4 separate regions of the Homo sapiens genome follow, and regions 1, 2 and 4 are each linked to region 3. The links are contacts of gene promoters, found by promoter capture Hi-C in blood cells and fetal thymus (Javierre and others, 2016). All regions are on one chromosome and are shown on one strand. The core of a region is centred on a gene start or on the middle of the fragment in contact, and the rest is flanking DNA. Distances in the headings are between cores, read along the strand shown. Region 1 holds the start of SLURP1 (secreted LY6/PLAUR domain containing 1). Region 2 overlaps LOC101928087 (a long non-coding RNA gene). Region 3 holds the start of LY6S-AS1 (LY6S antisense RNA 1). Region 4 overlaps LY6K (lymphocyte antigen 6 family member K).

What was found. Contacts are between HindIII fragments. The CHiCAGO score rates a contact against its expected background, and 5 or more counts as called.
Region 1: a contact is called between the fragment with the promoter of SLURP1 here and the fragment with the promoter of LY6S-AS1 in region 3, in 7 of 17 cell types (naive CD8 T cells, total CD8 T cells, naive CD4 T cells and 4 more). The highest score is 7.5, in naive CD8 T cells.
Region 2: a fragment that was not itself captured here is called in contact with the fragment with the promoter of LY6S-AS1 in region 3 in 2 of 17 cell types (naive CD8 T cells and total CD4 T cells); the score reaches 5.2 in naive CD8 T cells.
Region 4: a fragment that was not itself captured here is called in contact with the fragment with the promoter of LY6S-AS1 in region 3 in 1 of 17 cell types (total CD4 T cells); the score reaches 5.1 in total CD4 T cells.

The regions. Positions count from the first base shown.
Region 1 is chr8:142,740,974-142,743,673 of GRCh38, reverse strand. SLURP1 (secreted LY6/PLAUR domain containing 1) reads left to right here and starts at 1,268. Exons shown (of 3, transcript NM_020427.3): 1 at 1,268-1,346; 2 at 1,752-1,871; 3 at 2,398-2,700. The coding sequence starts at 1,289. The coding sequence ends at 2,531. The HindIII fragment of the contact is 7,810 bases long and covers 1-2,700 here.
Region 2 is chr8:142,639,499-142,642,198 of GRCh38, reverse strand. LOC101928087 (a long non-coding RNA gene) reads right to left here. Exons shown (of 2, transcript NR_134305.1): 2 at 1,551-1,760. Among named protein-coding and RNA genes, the nearest start is that of ARC, 26 kb to the right of the region's middle. The HindIII fragment of the contact is 1,766 bases long and covers 387-2,152 here.
Region 3 is chr8:143,037,847-143,040,546 of GRCh38, reverse strand. LY6S-AS1 (LY6S antisense RNA 1) reads right to left here and starts at 1,338. Exons shown (of 6, transcript NR_149322.1): 1 at 978-1,338. RefSeq lists an enhancer at 1,115-1,666. The HindIII fragment of the contact is 8,465 bases long and covers 621-2,700 here.
Region 4 is chr8:142,703,448-142,706,147 of GRCh38, reverse strand. It overlaps LY6K (lymphocyte antigen 6 family member K), which reads right to left. Exons shown (of 3, transcript NM_017527.4): 3 at 1,021-2,700. It overlaps LNCOC1 (lncRNA associated with ovarian cancer 1), which reads left to right. Exons shown (of 3, transcript NR_038925.1): 3 at 1-2,700. Among named protein-coding and RNA genes, the nearest start is that of LY6K, 4.7 kb to the right of the region's middle. The HindIII fragment of the contact is 690 bases long and covers 946-1,635 here.

The DNA.
Region 1 (2,700 bases), core at 19-2,518, 300 kb after region 3:
CCCATCCATCCACCCATCCATCCATCCATCCACCTATCCATCCATCTATGCATCCATCCCCCACCCATCCTCCATTCATCCCCAACTTATCCACCCATACATCCTTCACCCATTTCCTATCCATCTCTTACCATCCATCCATCCATCCCATATTCATCCCCCACTAATCCATCTACCCATCCATCCACCCATCCACTCATGCATCCACCCATCCATCTCCCATTCATTTACCCATCCATCCCCCACCCATCTATCCATCCATCCCCTATCCATCGCCTATTCATCCCCCATTCATCCATCCCCCATCCATCCATCCATCAACTCATCCATCTATACAACCACCCATTGGGACATCACAGGACAGAGAAACCAGAGAGGCTGGTATACCTGGAAGGACTGTGGAGAGGGGCACCTTAGTGGGTCTCACAGCATGGGGAAGATGTGGGACATCAGATGGGAGACCAGGCAATGTGGTCATTGAGCGGTATGGCATAGGCAGGCATGCGTGTGGAACAGGGTGTCGTGGGGGGCACGCAGTAAAGAGCAGACAACACAGTCAGGCCAGGAGGCTGGAGGGTGAGCAGAACCTTATTGTCAGGCGCCTAAAATCAAGAAACTCAGGTTTGGTCTAAAGGCCATTAGTGGGAAGGGGCTGGCAGTGATGAGGGGCCACTCCTGGGCCCAACCTTGTCAGCCTGAGAGTGGTCTAGCTGGCCCATGCTACCCTCACCTGACACCTGCTTCCTACCTCTGGTTTCTACTTTGCAGGTGTGTATCAGGTGTACACAGACCAGGTAGAGGTCTGTGGAGAGGGCTGCAGGCCAGGCTGCAGGGAAGGGGTGCCAGGCGGGGCTAGAGCAACAAGGGCAGAGGCTACACTGAACCTGGGTCTTAAGGGTCCCCCAGGCTGGGGCTGGGTGGCCTATGTGAACCCCAGAGGCACAGCCAGGACATGGGGGCTCATCAGAGGGGCAGTCTGAGCTCAGCAGGAAAGGCCTTCTCTGTCAGAGCTGTCCCAGGACCACTGGACATGGCTGAGGAACAGTGAGTTCCCCAGTGTTGGAGGTGTGCAAGCAGAGGCCTGGCCATCGTCCTCAGACAGAGCTCCCAGATCCAGCTCCCTGCCCGTCTGCCATGTTCCTGCCAGCTGCCTCCCCACTGGGCCCTTTACCACGTTCCTGACTCACACGGCCGGTTCTGCCACCGCCCAGAAGCCGGTGCCCAAGGGCCTGGGTATAAATCCTTGATGTGAGGCTGGCTACCTCTCATCACTTCTGAGCACGGAGCAATGGCCTCTCGCTGGGCTGTGCAGCTGCTGCTCGTGGCAGCCTGGAGCATGGGCTGTGGTGAGTGGGCCGCAGGCTGGTGGGGACCCTGCCTCTGAGCTTGTCTGCCCACCTCCTAGGGGGATGGGGCTGTTGGGGGTGCTTTGTGGCTGAGAGCCTCCTTAGGCCTCCATGAGGCTCACCCTCCTCATTCTCAGTGAGCCTCCTGGGTCCCAGAGCCCAGCTTCACCCTGGGACAGGGGTCACGGCTCCACTCTGCAGGAAGGGAGACTGAGGCTTGGTGGAGGGATGCAGCATTCAAGTCTGTGGCTCAGCTCAGTTAGAGAAAGCTGCCAGAGAGGCCCCTTGAAGGGCTGCCCGGGGCCTTGAAAGATGTCAGCGAGACTCCTTCAGCCCCTGCCTCCTGGTTCCAGGATGAGGCCACCGAGGTCAGGTGATGAGGTTCTGCCCCCATCCCTCACCCAGGTGAGGCCCTCAAGTGCTACACCTGCAAGGAGCCCATGACCAGTGCTTCCTGCAGGACCATTACCCGCTGCAAGCCAGAGGACACAGCCTGCATGACCACGCTGGTGACGGTGGAGGCAGGTGAGGCCAGGCCCCACGGCAGCCCTGGGTGCACTGGAGTCAGGGCCACCTCCCCCAAGTGCCTCCCTCCTTTGCTGGTGCTCCTCCCGGCCCAAAAGGCAGCAGGTGGGATGGGCAGAACAGGCTGCCACACCTTGGCAGGGGTGCCTTCCACGAGGGTGGCACAGCCCCCTCAGAGACCCAGTCCTGGGGCACCAGGCGCTGGAGGTGGGTGGGGCTTAATGGCCGGGGTACCCTGGGGGGCTCAAACCCCAGCTCTGACACAGACCCACTGGGTGGTGTTGCCACAGCCTCTGGGCTCGGGCTCCCATCTCAGCGCAGGCACTTCAGAGGTCTGACAAGGCCTAATAATTCATGAACAGGTCACAGTCAGAGGAGGGCTGGGCCCTGGGTGGCTTCACAGATGTGGACTATTGGGAACAGGGATCACAGGGAGGGTGAGGTCAGGCGACGGCGGCTGGGAGCAGTGCAGCAGCAGGCAGGCGCTGCAGGGGAGTGAGGGTTCTGACACTGGCCCACCCTGCAGAGTACCCCTTCAACCAGAGCCCCGTGGTGACCCGCTCCTGCTCCAGCTCCTGTGTGGCCACCGACCCCGACAGCATCGGGGCCGCCCACCTGATCTTCTGCTGCTTCCGAGACCTCTGCAACTCGGAACTCTGAACCCAGGGCGGCAGGGCGGAAGGTGCTCCTCAGGCACCTCCTCTCTGACGGGGCCTGGCTCCACCTGTGATCACCTCCCCCTGCTTCCTGCTGCTGTGGCACAGCTCACTCATGGGGTCTGAGGGGAGAGAAGCACACCAGGGGCGCCCTCTGCCTTCCATACCCCACG
Region 2 (2,700 bases), core at 20-2,519, 400 kb after region 3:
TGTTGGTTGATGTCTCATGTCTCCCTAAAATGTATAAAACCAAACTGTGGTCTGACCACCTTGGGCACATGTCGTCAGGACCTCCTGAGCCTGTATCATGGGTGTGTGTCCTCAACCTTGGCAAAATAAACTTTCTAAATTAACTGAGACCTGTCTCAGGTTTTTGAGGTTCACAATTAATAGTCAATGACATGAGAGAGAAGCCCTCCTCCTCTCCCGGTTGTGGACCTTTCTGTATTATCTTGCACCCAACTCAGACCAGAAGGCACAGAAGACCCCATGACTCTTCTACCCTCTGTGTTCAATATGCCTCTCCCGAAAGGAACACAGCCCCACCTAACTGGATGTGTGGGCCTGTGTGGACAGTGTTGAAGCCCCACTAAGCTTCCCAGACGTTATCTATATAAATGACCCCTAAACCTCTCCACTTGGGAGCACCAACTTCCATTCTTTGGAATCTGTGTACCCAGGTGGCCTTTCTCAAGCATTGTGTGCAAATAAATTACATTTAACCATATTCCATATTTCCTGATCTTTTTAAGGTTGACAGGAGCCACCGGCACCCTCACGTAGCCGCATCGTCACCCTAGACAAGCTGACTGCAGGCTTGGCTCAGAGGTCAGCTCTGCTGGACACAGGGAGGGGCAGGCAGAGGCTGGGTCTGATGTGCAGCTGCAGGGCCAGTGGAAAGGGGCTGCCTCACGAGGAACTGTTTTCTCCCCACTTCCCTTCTGAGGTCCTGGGATGAGCCTTGAGCAGATGCCCCCATTCCACCAGCCTCCCCTTCTTCTCACACCCATTTCTCTTCCTCCTGCCCAGGTCTCAGATGCCAAAGGCTTTGCTGCCTGCAGAGGGCAGGGGAGGTGTCCAGGGCTTTGCAGGCCATAAGGATGGCCCAGATGCCGGCCCTTCCCTGGGTGGGAGAGCCACCTGCCCACCTTTCCCCAAGGCTACTGCCCAGGCTCTCCCTTGGCTGGCAGCCTCCTCCCAGACACGAGTGGGCCAGGTGGTCCTCTCTCTTAAGGGGGTGGCCAAAGCCCAGATCTTGCCCATGTGGTGCTGCAGTTCCCCTGGGGTCCCTGAGGGAAGCCAGGGACTCTGTGGGCTCCAAGCCCTGGGCTTGGATGCCATGCCGTCCTTACAGCCATCTGCAGGGCAGGAAGGCCTGGCCAGGCTGGGGATGGGGAGAAATCTGGACTTGGGGGTGGTGGTGGCAGCTGCTGTCACCTCTTCATTGCAGGTGGGGGCTGAGCTCAGTGGGCAGGGGCCGCTGAAGACACACAGCTAGGGAGAGGGGACGCTAGAACTGAGCCCAAATCTGTGGGACCAGGAGCTGGGTTCATCCTCCCGTGACCCTGACTCTTGGTGAGGAGACACCCTGAACTGGGCAGGGTGGCAACCATGACAGGCATGGGGAGGTGGCAGGTCCCCAGGCTCACCTGCTCCTTTGCACAGAGGGGCCTCTGGCCTGTGGACAGGGTTGCCCTCCCAAGGCTCAGCCCTGCCACCTGCAACCCACTTTACCCAGAATAAGTAAGTAACACTGCCCATTTTTCAGGGCAATAAATTTTAATAAAGAGTTGTATTTTCCCCTGCAAGACACAGTGTGAAGGCTGTCTCTTCAGTGACAGGGTTCACTGCAACTCAGTCTCACTTCCATCATGAGCTGTCTCATGAGGTCTCTCATAAACCTCTCTCTCTCTCTCTCTCCCTGGTTCCAAAAATGAAGCCGCCAGCTCTCACCGTACCTTGCTGTTGAACTGAATGACAGACATTATTCAAAACCCCCACCCCAGGGCTCAAGATTAGGGGAGCAGGACAGAATTCAGGGCAGCTTCTAAGAGGGAGGAGCCCCAGCTGGGAGGCCTTGGAGGATTCTTGTGTGACAGGGGGCATACCGGGGGTCTCTGAGGCCCCTCATGGGTGCTGAATGCTCTGGCCTCCCCAGGGCTCAGCCCAGCCCCTGCTCTGTGGGACCCTGGGGCCAGGGTCTCCCTCTGGCAAGTGGTCTCAGGCCTTCTGCCCACCACCCTTGCCAGTGGCCTCATCACAGTTTATTCCTAAAACCAGAGTCTGCTCCTCACTGGACCTAAAGCCTCAAACTTCAGCACCCCTCCCGTGCCCCATGACCCCTTCAGCCTACACACAAGCTTTCTGTTTGTGGTGGGGTCCCTGCCCCTCACAGAGGGTCACCAATGAGGGTCGCTTATGTAAGAGCAGGGCTGTGTCCACGGCTTGCAAAGGACAGAAGTCGAAAGAACTGCTTTATTGCAGCTCAACAAGGGCTTATGGGGGTTTCTTACTGACTGAATTTTATTTGCTGACATTAAATGGTGCAGTGGGCTGGTGAGCCTGGCTTCCCGGTTCATAAATGGGATCAAAATGTCACTATGATTCCGTTAAAACCTTTAAAAAGGATGGTTGTGTCACCCAGATCTAGTTTGTAAACCTGCTCCAGCTGCTGTGTGTCTCTTGGGGCCAAGTGGCCCGCCCTGTCCTCCCTTTTCTCTGCTGGTGCTGGCCCTCCATCCCCAGTCTGCTGCTCCACCATGAGCGCTGGGCTGAGCCAGTGTTGAAGCTGTAGACATAAATCTATAGGCCGTTTGAGTATTGAAAACCAAGCAGTGCTGAGTGGAAGAAGCCTGTCTGTCCATCCACCCATTCCCCTGTCTGTCTGTCCACCCATCCGGCTGTCCATCT
Region 3 (2,700 bases), core at 89-2,588:
CCTTCCACGCTGGCCAGACGCCTGCATCCAAGACGTCCTGGTCCCTCTGACTGCACAGTGTGACAGCCACCACCCAGCCATGCCCTGTACTCCTGGATGTGATTTGCTAATTAGGGTCAATGGGGTAAGATGCCCAATTAAATATGAATTTCAGATAAACAATTTTTAGCATAAGTATGTCCCAAACATTGGTAAAAATGACTATTTGTTGTTTATCTGAGATTCAGATCAAACTGGGCATCTTGGACATTTTATTTGCTCAACTAGAAATTCATGAGTGCCTAAGGAGCTCAAGGGACATTCCAGACCCCCCAAATCTGTGTCGGACACAGGGGCAGTCACAATGGGGTGCAGTGGTTGTACCTGGTGACTCAGGACATTCGTCTACCTCCTCATGTCCCCCCTGCCTCTAGCACCACAGTGTCATGCCCTACCCTCCAGGGGGCCCAGAAAGCAGTGCTTTTGCCCAGGGCCATTGTCCCCTAGATAGAGGGTTCAGCCCAAGGAGGGCAGCCCTGATTCCCAAGCCTCCTGCAGCACTGACTCTCCACTGCAGCAGGCCTGGGGTTTCTGGCCATGGCTCGCCTTTGGCTCACCTCTCCAGAAGGTCTCTGGAAGCTTCTTCCCCACAGGGTCCTCCCTTCCACTGTAACCTTCCCTGGTTCTGGGAAACAAACTTGAGAGGCCCAGGCGCACCCCACCTCTTCTCTTTAGGTCTCCACAGCTTTTCCTCTGCCTCGTCCCCAAGGGGATCACTCTGGCCTTTCCCCTCTCCAGTGACCCTCTCCACACCCTCCCGGCTTCCCCCTTCCTCTGAGCACCCCAGATGCCAAAGGACAAGGTGAGGGAGCCTTTGGAGAAATGTTGCCTGACGTCACTGGTCCCCCACGCTCGGGGGACCCACACGGCCCGCCCTGCAGGCAGCCCCCTCCCCGCAGGCAGCCCCCTCCCCGCAGGCCGCCCCCTCCCCACCTCACCTCACAGCTGCAGGGGTCGGGGCTCGGAAGTGCTGGGGGCAGTTCAGGTTGAAGGCTGGGCAGCGTGCACTTCTCCCCCAGCCTCCTGGGGCCCGGGCATCACCGGAAGCGGAGTTTGTTCCCACTTTGTATCAGTCGCAAAGAAAGAGCACCCAATTGGACAAAAGGCAAGCAGGCTGCGTTCCTGGCCCGGAGTGGAGAAGAGTGAGCCCCTGCCCTGTCAGGGAAGCTGAGGCTGGGGGTTGTGAGGAGTCCCGTGCCGGGAGGAGGCTGCAGGAGCGCCTCAATGCACCTCTTGATACCACGCATGCTTAGCAAGGCCTGGGGACTGTCCTCTCGGGCAGGACTTCCGCCTTGTAATGACATGTCGCTGATTTAAAGGGAACTGGGGGTCACCAGCTCTGGTTTGTGCAAGTCTGGTGCGTTCTTATCTCCCTTGTATTTGGCAGGGGATCCTAAACCTCTCCTGGTATGTTGAGACATCTGGAGCTCATTAAGCCTCGGCGCCTGTAGATAAAGAGATTAAAGGAAAAAAGAAAAGAAATCCCGCCCTGGGGCAGCTGGGGTAGGATTAGCCTGGAGGCCACGCCTCTGCAGGGTCTCCCATAGGCTGGGCCAGCCTCTGCCCTCCCTGCTTCCAGAACCCCGGACGCTGATGGCCTGTGGCGGCCACTCTCCGCCCACCCCGGAGCCCAGCCTAGCGGGGAGAAGGCCGCCGGCCCGTTCGAATGTCCCTCTGCTTCCAGGGTCAGCCTGCACGCCACTCTCACAGAGGCCAGACGGGCGGTGGGGCGGGGACTCAGTTCATCCTCTGCCTGAGGAGCAGGTCTCGGGTGCGACTGAGCTTTTCACCCTTTGAGAGGAGTCAGGGACACGCAGCGTCTCCAGCAAGCTGGTGGCAGAAACTGATGGAGCATCCTAATCACAAAATAGGAAGAGAGTTTGCAAAATAGGAGCATTTACCAGAAGCCTCTCTCTCTCCCTCCCTCCCTCCCTCCCTCTCTCTCTCTCTCCCTCTCTCTCTCTCTCTCTCTCTCTCTCTCTCTCTCTCTCTCTCTCTCTCTCTCTCTCTCTCTCTCTCTCTCTCTCTCTCCCTCCCTCCCTCTCTCCCTCTCTCTCTCCCTCCCTCCCTCTCTCTCTCCCTCCCTCCCTCTCTCCCTCCCTCCCTCTCTCTCTCTCTGTGTGTCTCTCAAGTAGAAGTGGGGTCTCTATGTTGCCCAGGCTGCTCTCGAACTCCGAGGCTCAAGCGATCCTCCTGCCTCAGCCTCCCAAAGTGCTGCGATTACAGGTGTGAACTACTGGGCCCAGCCCCAGGCCCTCTTACAGGAGTGGGCTGCCTAGAAACATTCCAGTGCCATATCCCACTCCACTCCGGGTGCAGGGACAGGACCCCTGCCACCCCCAACCCAGGCCCAAAAGGAGGGGCCAGGAGGGGAGGGGCCACCAAGGCAGGTGAGCTGCTTAAGAGGAGCGAGGGCTGTGGACAGTCCTGCGGACTGCAGGAGGGGCCAGCAGGATCAATATCCAGCTTCTCTCTCCTGCTGGGCTCCTGCTGGGGCTCCCTGTTGGTCACCCCAAAACCTACTGTCTCTCATCGCTGCCGGGGCTGGCCAGGCTCAGCTGCTGGTTCTGCCTTGGGGCACCTCCTAGGTGGAGTCAGGGTGGCTGAAGGCTTCCCCACTCATGCGTCCACTGTCTGGACATCCTGCCCCTGCCCGACCTC
Region 4 (2,700 bases), core at 41-2,540, 330 kb after region 3:
CATTCTAATTCCTAACCCTGCAATAATTTTCTATCTCCCTTACTCAAGTAATTGGGAGTGCTCCTAGTGTTACCAGAGACCCAGCAGTTCCCAATTTCGAATTTTTCCGTATTCACATTTCTTGACTTGCTATGATTTTACATCACAGATTACATCCTTCATTTGAAGAGACTCTAATGGAAGGCTGCCATGGAAACTCTCTCATGTGGCTGACCTCCTACCTCACTTGCTCTTTCTGAATGAAGTTCCCACTTTTGCCTGCCTTAATGAAAGTAATGCTCCCCAAACTCAAGCCCAGGGCTGCGAATTGGAAGCAGCTGGGGCTACTGTTTCTGGGTGCTGGTGTGAATGGCAGGATGTGAACACCAGCCTGTGACGGGCAAAAAGATGGACACACAGGCAGAGCCTGACAGGTGCTGGTGGTCCTATCTGGTCCTGAGTTGCTGGGACCCTCCTTGCCCACTGCCCCTAGAATGGACTTTGGCCTCAGGTTCGAAGTGTTCAGATGTGACTGAGATGAGCCTTTTCCCCATGCCTCAGGAATAGCGAAGAAACTCTATCTGGAAGGTTCCCCAGGCTTCCCCACCCAGCAGCCTCTGGTATTAGACCAGGCAGTGGCTGGCCAGGATGGTGGGGACAGAAGGGAGACAAAGGTGAGCAGTGGGTGGGGTCACATCCTCCCTGACATTGAATAGACAACATGGGGAGGAAGGATGAGTGATCTTTAGAATGTTCATGGAAAATGCATATTGGGAAAAAGAATGCATGAATTTCAAATTGTTTTGCAACAAAATAAACTTGTACTAACTTGTGAAAACACGTCCGAACAGGATCTAGTTTGAGGCCCTAAGAAGTATAAGACAACAGTTTGAACAGAGCTCCTATCAGACACATGAATTCTGCTAAAATTGAAACCAGAACAAACATGCAATTGATGGTGAAGCTTGGCTGGAAACATGGTGAAATCATTGATGATTTATTGAAAGTTTATAGGGACAATGCCTCAAAGAAATCAGCAATTTAAGTAAGTGGATAACTCATTGGAAGAAGAGAAGAGATGATGTTGGAGAGGAAGTCCACAGCAGCAGGCCAGCCACATCAGTCTGTGAGGAAACAATTCATCTTGTTTGTGCCCTAATTTAAGAGGACTGATTAATAGCAGCAGAAACAATAGCCAACGCTGTAGGTATCCCAAGGTGTTCAGCTTACACAATTCTGACTGAAATTAAAGTTGAGTAAACTGTCCACTCGGTGGGTGCCAAAACTTTCTCCCAGCTCAGCTGCAGATAAGAGAAAAGCGTTCTATGGCCATTTTAAACAAGTGGAATCAAGATCCTGAAGCATTTCTTCATATAATTATAGCCGGAGATGAAATGTGGCTTAACCAGTACACTCCTGAAGGCAAAGCACAAGCAAAGCAATGACTACCTAGAGGTGGGCGTGGTCCCATCAGAGTAAAAGCAGACATGTCAAGGGCAAAGGTCGTGGCAACCGTTTTGTGAATGCTCAAGGCATCTTGCTTATTGACTTTCTGGAGGGCCAAAGAACAGTAACATCTTATTATGAGAGTGTATAGAGAAAGTCAGCCAACGATTTAGCAGGAAAACACCCAGGAAATCGTCACCCCGGAAAGCTTCACCAGAGAGCCCTTCTCCACCATGACAATGCTCCTGCTCATTCCTCTCATCAAACAAGGCCAGTTTTGTGAGAGTTTCAATGGGAAATCACTAGGCATACACCTTCCAGGCCTGATTTGGTTACTTCTGTTTTATAATTTTAAAAAATCTTTAAAGGGCACCCACTTTTCTTCAGTTAATAACGTCACAAAGACTGAAGTGGCATGGTTAAATTCCCAGGGTGCCCAATTCTTTAGGGATGAACTGAATGGCTGGTACCATTACTTGCAGAAGCGTCTCGACCTTGATGGAGCTCATGCTGAGAAATAAAACATTTTTTAATTTTTATCTTTTAATTCAATTTTTTCGTGAACTTTTGAAGTCCCCTTGTATTTGTTTTTGGTGGAACTTTGAGTCTGATTTCTCAGCTCCCCATGGATGGCTGCATCTTAACAGAGAAATGAACGCCATTTACCCTGATGCTCTCTACTTGGCCTAAGTTTCAGATGTTGAACACACACGTGTGGGAATTTATGAATCTGTGCACCTGTGCCAGCTGGTGGGTGAAGTCTAAGTTTCTTCAACACAATTAGTTATCTTCTGCCTCCTGGAATCTGGTAGGAAAGGTTGAGGAAAAGCAGCCATCCACAGCGCCTCCACCACTGGAATGGGGGCAGCCCTAACGTGTGCCCCACTGCCCCCCATGCTGAGGAGTCCTTCACTCCAGGGATGTCTTCACCCCAATCATTCAGACTCCCCCAGTGTTCCTGCGTCACCTGAAAGGTCGGAAGCATCTCAGCACATACTCTCCATGAGTGGTACTTAGGCCTCCCTCCCCATCAATACTGAAGCCCTCAGAGGCAGAGGGGAGTCAAGGAAAAGAGTGGCCATCAGCAATAAATGAGTTACAAGGTTTGATTTCAAAGAGAAAAACTTGTCACCAAAATCACTACTCAGGAGATCTGGACTTCCTCTGAATGTGAGTTAAAGAACCCTTGAGGGTTAAGAGCCAACTGCACCTGATCCCCACTCTCCCATCCCAAGACCCTGGGAAGTCAAACCAAGAGGTAATCAACAGAAAACA